Regions from separate parts of the Homo sapiens genome. Here region 2 is linked to region 1. The links are contacts of gene promoters, found by promoter capture Hi-C in blood cells and fetal thymus (Javierre and others, 2016). All regions are on one chromosome and are shown on one strand. Each heading gives the region's core, a stretch centred on a gene start or on the middle of the fragment in contact. The rest is flanking DNA. Distances are from core to core; before and after follow the strand shown. Region 1 holds the start of CLDN19 (claudin 19). Region 2 overlaps CCDC30 (coiled-coil domain containing 30).

The links. Contacts are between HindIII fragments. The CHiCAGO score rates a contact against its expected background, and 5 or more counts as called.
Region 2: a contact is called between a fragment that was not itself captured here and the fragment with the promoter of CLDN19 in region 1, in 7 of 17 cell types (activated CD4 T cells, non-activated CD4 T cells, megakaryocytes and 4 more). The highest score is 7.5, in activated CD4 T cells.

What each region holds. Positions count from the first base shown.
Region 1 is chr1:42,738,551-42,743,194 of GRCh38, reverse strand. It overlaps CLDN19 (claudin 19), which reads left to right and starts at 2,959. Exons shown (of 5, transcript NM_148960.3): 1 at 2,959-3,354; 2 at 4,610-4,644. The coding sequence starts at 3,132. RefSeq lists an enhancer at 1,000-1,602. The HindIII fragment of the contact is 4,341 bases long and covers 1-4,139 here.
Region 2 is chr1:42,588,512-42,593,315 of GRCh38, reverse strand. It overlaps CCDC30 (coiled-coil domain containing 30), which reads right to left. Exons shown (of 21, transcript NM_001395517.1): 14 at 3,833-3,995. All of the region lies in intron 1 of LOC124904162 (a long non-coding RNA gene), which reads left to right. Among named protein-coding and RNA genes, the nearest start is that of PPIH, 68 kb to the left of the region's middle. The HindIII fragment of the contact is 4,786 bases long and covers 1-4,165 here.

The DNA.
Region 1 (4,644 bases), core at 1,710-4,209:
TGATCAACACATACCTAGCAAGGCTGGCTCTCGGTCAGGCACTGTTGCAGAGGAAGTGGCAGTGGGTCTTCAGCCACAGGCAGTCTGCCCACTCCCAGAGTGCGAAGGCTGGAGGGGCAGACTGTGCGGGGAGTCTTTTTGGAACAGAGCTTTCATTAGTCACAGTTCTGCAGGCGTTTTATGCTTTCAAACAGCCTTTCTCACCTATCATCTGATCCTTGTAAACTCCCTCATGCATCAGACAGGGCAAGTGTTATTATCCCTACTTTTCAATGGAGAAACCAGGCCCAGGGAAGCTGAGGATTTGGCTAATGTCCCATAGCTTTTCAGTGGCAGGGGTAAAGCTAGAACTGTAGGCTTCTCATAGCCTGAGTGAAAGCACAGGGTGCTGTGCTACCCCAGGGCAGTTTCAGTGAGCTCTTAATGGAGGCTGGGCTGTGACCCTGAGCCTTCCTGTTCTCCCCGCATGTCTGGGAGTCATTGGACTGCAAGGGGGGGCACCAGGAGTGGTAGGTGTCCTGGGTGGAGAAGCTGTGCCAGGTTAAGGAATGCCGCTCCAGAAGCAGAATCTGAATTCCAAAAGGCTTTGGAACAAGAATGAGGGAAGGCCGTCAGGGTAGGAGAGAATATTTTGGTAGAACAGACTCAAAGCCTCAAATAACAAAGAGAAGGGATAAACAGAAGCACTTCAGAGGAAGAGGAGAGCACTGTTCCGGATCACGAAGAGGCTCTGGGAACACCCAGGATGGAGGAGCATGCAGGCCTCCTGCTGGCTCTGTGGCCCTGTGGACCCGTGGCTCCCTTTCTCTCTTTGGCCCTCAAATTGTCAATGGAGGGGGCCGCAGCCCATGGTCTCTGAGGCATGCTTCTGACTGGCCTCTGGGCTCCTGACCCAGGTCCCCCTGAAACCAGAATGACCCCTGGATCTTCCCTACAGAGAGAGCGCCTGCAGATGGCGGGGAAAAGGGGCCAAGGCCCAGCGTGGAGAGAAGGAGGACTTTGCCTTTGGAGGAGCATATGCGGAGCAGCTACCCAGCACCAGGCCCCTGCCCTCCCCAGACATCGCTTACTTTAACGGACCACCACAACTCCATGAAGCAAACCTCCCATTTAGAGTGAGGACCCTGAGGCACCACAGTCATTCAGGTCACCCCTGGGGAGCATCTTGTCACTGCCCGCAGCCCCCTTCAATCTGGACCTGGTGCCTCCCTCAAAAAGGGAGGAGTGTGGGAGAGAGACCACAGGGGCCAGCACCACACAGTTTCAAGCGGAAAGCCCTTCCTGCTGTTTCCTGGCTGGGGGTCTATTACCTCCCTCTGCCGTGGTCTCCTTACTGTTAGGAGGCCTGCTGCCTGCAACAGTGGCCCACATGCTTAAATTAATGCACTGGTCACAGGGTGCCCATTGCGGCCCCAGTAGGATGGAGGAGGCTCCCCTCAATCCTACTGTCTTGTCATTGTGGTAGAAGAATCTGAGCTCAGGACTTACTTCTCTGCCACTGTCCTAGACCCCATTTGGTCTTGGGACCCACAGGTCGTCCAGGAAGCAGGTCTGTGTGTGCTCGGATCCACGTGGCTCTGACCCTCCCAGCACAGAGAGCCTGAGGGTCCCAGTGTGCACCACCACAGGTCAAGCAGTGCCCACCCTTGACCCTCAGATGGCAGACCACTCCCCCATCTCTGGCCAGAGCTGCAGGCCATACCAGAGGCCTACGCCCTGGGCGGGCACACAGGGCTGCCATTGTCTGCTCAGCGCCTGGCACCCTCTCGTTTGCATAGCCACGTGAAGAATGCAAGAGCGGGCTGGGGACTTGTCCCTTCAGAGGGGGGTTGGGGCTGTGGGGGAGGAAGCCAGCAGGGGTCTGCAGCAGGACCCTGCCTTCCCCCAGTGCAGTCCAGGAAGGGTGGGTGGGCTGTTGGGGACGGAGGGGGCGGCGGGGGGCTGGCAGGAGTGGAAGCAGGGTTGTGACATTCCTTCTGCACCCACGCTGCAGTGGGGCCCACTTGAACGTGAGGGGATTGCTAATGAGGTGGAAGAGAGTTAAACATTCCCCTACTCCTGAAGACCAAGAGAGACTGGGAGAGAGAAGAGGGAGGTGGGGGTGCTCGGAGCGGGCAGCCTGAACCCCGGGAATGTGCAGAGGCCACTGCTCCGCGCCAGGCTGCTCTAGAGTTGGGGGCCAGGGCCCAGTGTTCCAGTCCCAGCAGGAGCTACTAAGCCAGCCAGCAAGGGGATTAAGGGGCTGAGCAATCCGCCTTCCTTCAGGCTGATGCCAGAAGGTTGGGGCTGTCTCCCCAGCTCCCCACCAGGCCCCTTGCTGGCCGGCAGCCAGCGCTGGCCCAGCCTCGATAGGGCCCCTTTTCTGTCCCCCTCAGATCTCAAAAAGACCCCACAGTACATATTTCCTGGTCTGGCCTCCCTGATTTTTGGCACACACAGCTCCCAGGTACCCATGACCCCTCTTCCCAACACCCCACCGCTAGCTCAGCCTCCCCACATCCAGCTTCAGAGCCCCTGCCAAAAAGTTATCCTTGACATCTAACTCTAGTTTTACCCGCTGCAAACTGGCATTCCTTTCCCTTCTGTCCTAAAGTCAAAGGGCAGAAAACCCCAAGGGTTAGATCAGCCTTGCAAGAGCAAAGTCCATCCTCCCAGGGCTGGTGTTTGGGTTAGGGATTATCCGAATTTTAGGACACCCGAATCAGGTTCCTAAAGGGGTTTCCCTGTGGGGAAAGGCCCAGAGGGCAGCTGGGTCATTCCTCTCAGCCCCTCCCTTCCCTATCCCTGCGGAACGGGGCGGGGCAGGGACACCACCTGGGCCATGGGCCGGCCCTCCGCCCCCAGGGGGCTGGGCATGAGCTTTGCTGGGGACCCTGCTCTGGCTTAGGCGGCTGCTGTGGGCGGGCCCTGGCCTTTTCCAGCCCCTGGGCCTCCCCCTGCATTCTGGAGTCCAGAGCCACTGCCTTTGCTCCAGCCGCTGCCGCCGCACCACCTCTCCTTCTCTGCCTCTGACCCTCCTTCTCGCTGCTCCCCCTGCCCAGCTGCTCCTCCCACCTGGCCATGACCAAAGCCCCTGCTGGCACCCTGGCCCAGCTCTGAGTCCTGGGACCCTCGGTCCTCTCTCCTGGGCCATGGCCAACTCAGGCCTCCAGCTCCTGGGCTACTTCTTGGCCCTGGGTGGCTGGGTGGGCATCATTGCTAGCACAGCCCTGCCACAGTGGAAGCAGTCTTCCTACGCAGGCGACGCCATCATCACTGCCGTGGGCCTCTATGAAGGGCTCTGGATGTCCTGCGCCTCCCAGAGCACTGGGCAAGTGCAGTGCAAGCTCTACGACTCGCTGCTCGCCCTGGACGGTAGGCCCCAGGCCGGCGGGGTGGGAGATGGGAGGTGGGAACAGCAGGGGAGTCTGGAGCAAGTTTTCCTCACAGTCTGCTATCTGCGCTGGGCTCCAACCTCCAGCCTCCGCTCTACAATTCCCCCACTACTGCCCTGTGCCCATTGACGGTCCAGGCCAGCCTGCTGCCCTGTGGGAGGGGAGGGCTCTAGGGTCTGGCGGCTGTGGGTCCAGATTCCTGCTCTGTCACTATAACTTTGAACTAGTCACCAAACCTCTTCCCATTGTGATGTTCTCATCTCTAAAGGGGAATACTAATACCTGTGGCACTCTGAAAGACTCAGTTAAGACCCTTCATCCACTTCTCCCCACAGTCAGTAGACAGACACACACTGTATGATGCACACCTGCTCCCTAGTCCTGCTCCCAGGCCTGTGTGCCAGCATATGGGTGCATGCACATGCATGCAAACACGCATGCACACGCACACACGTGCACATGCATGCACAGACAGGTGTGTCTGCATGCAGTCCCTCTCCTTCTGGGGTGTGGAGATGAGCCTGACAGGCACCGCCGAAGTTCTAACTCTGGGGTGGAGGTGATCCACCTGCAATCTGCCCAGGAGCCCCCAGGGACAATCTGCTCCCCATGGGAGCTGGGAGCAGAGCGGCCTTCAACCAGCCCCATTGTGCCAGTTCAGGCAGGTCAGTTCAGGCAGGTCATCTAGCCTCGCTGAGGGACCCAGGTCTCCTGAGCACCCCCCAGGGCCCAGGATGGACCCATGCACCCGTGAAGAGGCAAGCTTCCAGCTGCCATGGGCAGAGGGGAAAGTGACTGTTGTCTGAATGGCTGCTGGGGAGGGGTTGCTGCGGGGCTCAGGCTGAGTTGAGCTGGGCCTCAGATACCCCCAGCTCTTCCACCTACCAAACCTGAGGGGACCCTGGAGCTGCCCTCAGCTGCTTGGGAGGATGGGCCAAGCCCAAGAGGGAGTCCCCAGGCCAGAAAGCAACAGCAGAGTGAATCATACTACCGGAAAAGCCTGCAAGGGCGAGTGGAGAATGGCGTTGACAGTGAAGGGGACTCTCACCCCCACACCCTGTCCTCATGCCCGGGCTGTCACTCCTCACTATCCTGCACCTGCCAGAAGGTGGTCTGACCCCCCAGGCCAGCTCCTGCTCAAGCCCCTCTCAAGCTGGGCTCCTTCCACCGACCCCAGGCACCGACCCAACCCCCATCCCCGCCAGCCCGACTCAGTGTCATCCCGCCCACCCTAGGTCACATCCAATCAGCGCGGGCCCTGATGGTGGTG
Region 2 (4,804 bases), core at 523-3,022, 150 kb after region 1:
TAATCAGCCAGTAATCCAGTAAGCAAACTGTTTTCCTGAATTCTGTGAGCCATCCTACAAAAAGATCAAACCCAAGGAGAGGGTTGTGGGGACCTCTGATTTATAACTGGTTGGTCAGAAGCATAAGCAAAAACCTGGACTTGCAATTGGCATCTCGAATGGGGGCAGTATTGTGGGACTGAGAGCTTAACTCATGGGATCTGATGCTATCTTCAGGTAGATAGTGTCAGACTGACTTACATTTTTGTACATCCAGTTGGTGTCCACAAAGAATTGGAGAATTGCTTAGTATGGGGAAAAACTCACATAACTGGTGTCAGAAGTTGTATTTGGCCATTTTTGCATTGCTATAAAGGAATACCTGAGACTGGGTAATTTATAGAGAAAAGAAGTTTAATTGGCTCATGGTTCTGCCGGCTATACAGAAAGCGTGGTGCCAGCATCTGCTCAGCTTCTGGTGAGGGCCTCAGGAAGCTCACAATCATGATGGTAGGTGAAGTGGGAGCAGACATGTCATATGGTGAGAGGAGCAAGAGAATGGGGAGAGGTGTCATATACTTTATTTATTTATATTTTAAGTTTTATTTATTTATTTATTTTTTGAGACAGGGTCTGGCTTTGTTGTCCAGGCTGGAGTGCAATGGCGTGATCTCAGCTCACTGCAAATTCCGCCTCCCAGGTTCAAGCCATCTTCCCCACCTCAGCCTCCTGAATAGCTGAGACTACAGGTGTATGCCAACACATCCAATTAATTTTTGTATTTTTTTGTACAGATGGATTTCTCCATGTTGCCAAGGCTGGTCTCAAACTCCTGAGCTCAAGTTCAAGGTCAAGCTCAAATGCCTTGGCCTCCCAAACTGCCGGGATTACAGGCATGAGCTACCATGCCTGGCTACATACTTTCAAACAACCAGATCTCATGAAGAGCACACTCACTATTATGAGGACAGCACCAGGCCATTAATGAGGGATGCACTCCAATGACCCAAACACACTCCCCTCAGACCCAACCTCCAACAACGGGGATTACATTTCAAGATGAGATTTGGAGGGGATAAAGAACCAAACCGTATCATTCCACCCATGACCCCTCAAATTGCATGTCTTTCTCACACTACAAGATACAATCATTCCCTACCAATAGTCCCCAAAAGTCTTAACTCATTCCAGCATCAAGTCCAAAGTCCTAAGTCTCTTCTGAGACTTATCTCCTTCCACTTATGAGCCTGTAAAAATCAAAATAAGTCATTTACTCCCAAGATACAGTGGTAGTACAGGCATTAGGTAAACATCACAATTCCAAAAGGGAGAAATTAGCCAAAAGAAAGAGTCAATAGGCCCCATGCAAGTCTAAATCTCAGCAGGGCAGTCATTAAATCTTAAAGCTCCAAAATACTCTCCCTTGACTCCATGTCCCACATCCAGGGCACAATGGTGCAATGCGTAGGCTCCCAAGGCCTTGGGTAGCTCTTCTCCTGTGGCTTTGCAGGCAGCAGCCCCTGTGGCTGATCTCACTGGTTGGAGCTGGGTGTCTGAGGCTTTCCCAGGTACAGGATGCAAGCTGCCTGTGGATCTACCATTCTGGAGTCTGGAGGGCAGTGGCCCACTTCTTATAGCTCCACTAGGCAGTGCCCCAGTGGGGACTCTGTGTGAGGCTTCCAACCCCACATTTCCCCTCAGCATTGCCCTATTAGAACTTCTCTGTGAGGGCTCTGCCCCTGTGGCAGGGTTCTGCCTGGGCACCCAGGCTATCTCTCACATCATCTGAAATCTTTGTGGGAGCTGCCAAGCCTCCTTCACTCTTGCATTCTATGTGCCCACAGGTTTAGTACCACATGGAAGCCACCAAGGCTTATGGCTTGCATCCTCTGGACAGGCAGCCTGAGCTGTATCTGGGGTCCTTTGAGCCACAGCTGGAGCTGTAGTAGCTGGGATTCAGGGAGCAGTGTCCTGAGGCTGAGCAGAGCAGTGGTACCCAGTGCTTGGCCCCCTAAACCATTCTTTCCTCCTACGTCTGTGGACCTGTGATGGTAGGGGCTGTCTCCAAGTTCTCTGAGATTGCCTTTGAGGCCTTTTCCCATTGTCTTGGATACTAGCACTTGGCTCCCATTTAGTCATGCTAGTTTCTCTAGCAAGTAGTTGCTCCATACCCTGCTGGGATTCTTTCTCTGCCACATGGCCAGGCTGCAAATTTGCTGAATTTTTATGCTCTGCTTCCCTTTTGAATATAAGTTCCAACTTTAAGTCATTCCTTTGCTCCCATATCTGATCACAGGTTGTTACAAGGAGTCAGGCCACATCTTGAATGCTTTGCTGCTTAGAAATTTCTTCTGCCAGAGACCCTAAATTACCACTCTTAAATTCAAACTTCCACAGATCCTTGGTACATGAACACAATGCAGGAGTTCTTTGCTAGGGTGTAACATGAGTGACGTTTATTCCAGTTCCCAATAACTTCCTTATTTCCATCTGAGACCTCACTAGGCTGGCCTTCACTGTCCATATTTCTATCAGTATTTTGGTCATAACAATTTAACCAGTCTCTAAGAAGTTACAAACTTTCATCCTCTTTTTTTTTTTGAGACAGAGTCTCGCTGTGTCACCTAGGCTGTAGTGTAGTGGCATGATCATGGCTCATTGCAACCCCGACCTCCCAGCTCAAGTGATCTTCCCACCTCAGCCTCCTGAGTAGCTGGTACTACAGGTCCATGCCACCATATCTGGCTAATTATTTTTTTGTTGAGACAAGGGCTCACTATGTTGCCCAGGCTGGTCTTGAACTCCTGGCCTCAAGCAATCCTCCTACCTCAGCCTCTCAAGCGCTGGGATTACAGTTGTGAGCCACTGCTCCTGGTCCTCCTGCCTTCTTCTGAGCCCTCCAAACTCTTCCAATCTCTGCCTGTTACCCAGTTCCAAACTTGCTTCCACATTTTCAGGTATCTTTTTTAGTAACGCTCCGCTTCTTGGTACCAATTTTCTGTGTCAAGCTGTTCTTGCACTGCTATAAAGAAATACCCGAGACTGGGTAATTTATAAAGAAAAGAAGTTTAATTGGCTTACAGATATGCAGACTATACAGGAAGCATGGTATCGGCATCTGGTCAGCTTCTGGTGAGGGACTCAGGAAGCTAACAATCATGGTGGTAGGTGAAATGGGAGCAGACATGTCACACGGTGATAGTGGGAGCAAGAGAGAGCGGAGAGGTGCCACACACTTTTAAACATCTAGATCTCGCAATAATTCATTATCGTGAGGACAGCATCAAGCCATTTATGAGGGACCCACCCCCATGACAAAACCACCTCCTGTTAAGCCCCACCTCCAATGATGGGGATTACATTTCAGCAAGAGATTTGGAGAGGAGAATCATCCAAACTATATCAGAAGTGAAGTATTCAGAGTGGTACGAGTATAGAAAGAAGAAACAGGTTTGTTTGTCTTTCCCCCCAACAGTTCTTTAGCACTAGCAGATGGATAAAAGGGCAGACAACAGATGAGACATTTGTAGGAGCTTCAGGACAGTTCCTGCAAATTCTCCACTTTGACGCTGCAGGAGGTGGCTTCTCTGTGATTTCTGAACTTCTGGATTTATTGAAAGCTAGCAGCAGTCCTTTCTGACTCTACTCTCCCCTGGTCCCTTCCAACTGTTTTGTAAGCTCTTATTCCCTGTGTTAAATCTCTTCTTGCTTGAAATACCTAGAGTAGATTCTACTTTCCTGACTGAACCCTGACTAAAGGATTAGGTTTAGTAAAGTGCTAGGCACTCAATAATAATTAGCTGTTACTAATGGGAATAGGAAAACTGAGAAGCATGTCTATTTACTTTCTTACCTCATCATATTTTCTTTTTTCATTTTCCAGTTGTTTAAGTAGGGCCTCTTGTTGCTGAATTCTGGATTGTTGCTGAGAACAGGTCATTTCCAGTAGATTTTCTTTATCTTGTAAGGTTCTCACTTGCCTGTGTAACTCATCTACGTTCTGATATAGAAGTTTCCTGAGGGCAATTAATGTAGATTAAATCACACCATGAATTGCAAATGAAATTCAGACCTAAAATTTTTATGGCATCACAAGGGATTTTTTTTTTTTTTGGTTCAATGAAGTAGGGTATGTGTCTATAAGCTAAAGGGACCAACACAGGGAACCTCTTTTGTGATAGAAGCTTTCCTTACTTCTCTCACTCACTCATCAAAATGACCCTATGAGGAAAAAGTAGTTGTCCTTATTTCAGAGATGAGGAAGTTGTGGTAGAGAGAACAGTTAAGACAAAGTGGAGGTAGGGCTCGAATCCTGAATCCCATATTCTTTCTTCCTTACTGCTTTACGAGTTGAGCCCTTCATCTTCTGGGTTCAAGGTAATGTTAGTTACAAGCACTATTGATAATAATAAGCACACATTAACACTGCTATAAATGAATCATAAATGAGCCTGCATTTTATGAGAAAATTTACCATTTTCCAAAAGAGGGTAAAGGAACTCACAGAATTTTACCTCAAATATGGTATCCTGGTATACTAAATATTTTGAATGAAAGGCCCTTAGAGATCAGCAGATGCTAGAAGAGGCTTTTCTCTTATCTGCGTGAAGACTGGACTTACCAAGGAGAACAATTATACCCATCCCCTCCCTGAAACTGCATTATTTATGGATCTTCAGAAAAGAAGATTGAGGAATATAACAACACCTCCACAGACCTTTTCACAAGACAATGGCTATCTCTTAAACTCATTCAAATTCCCAGGTAAATAATTTATGAATTAATTTTTGTCTCCAGGGTCCCTTCACTCTCCCTAATGAGTTAC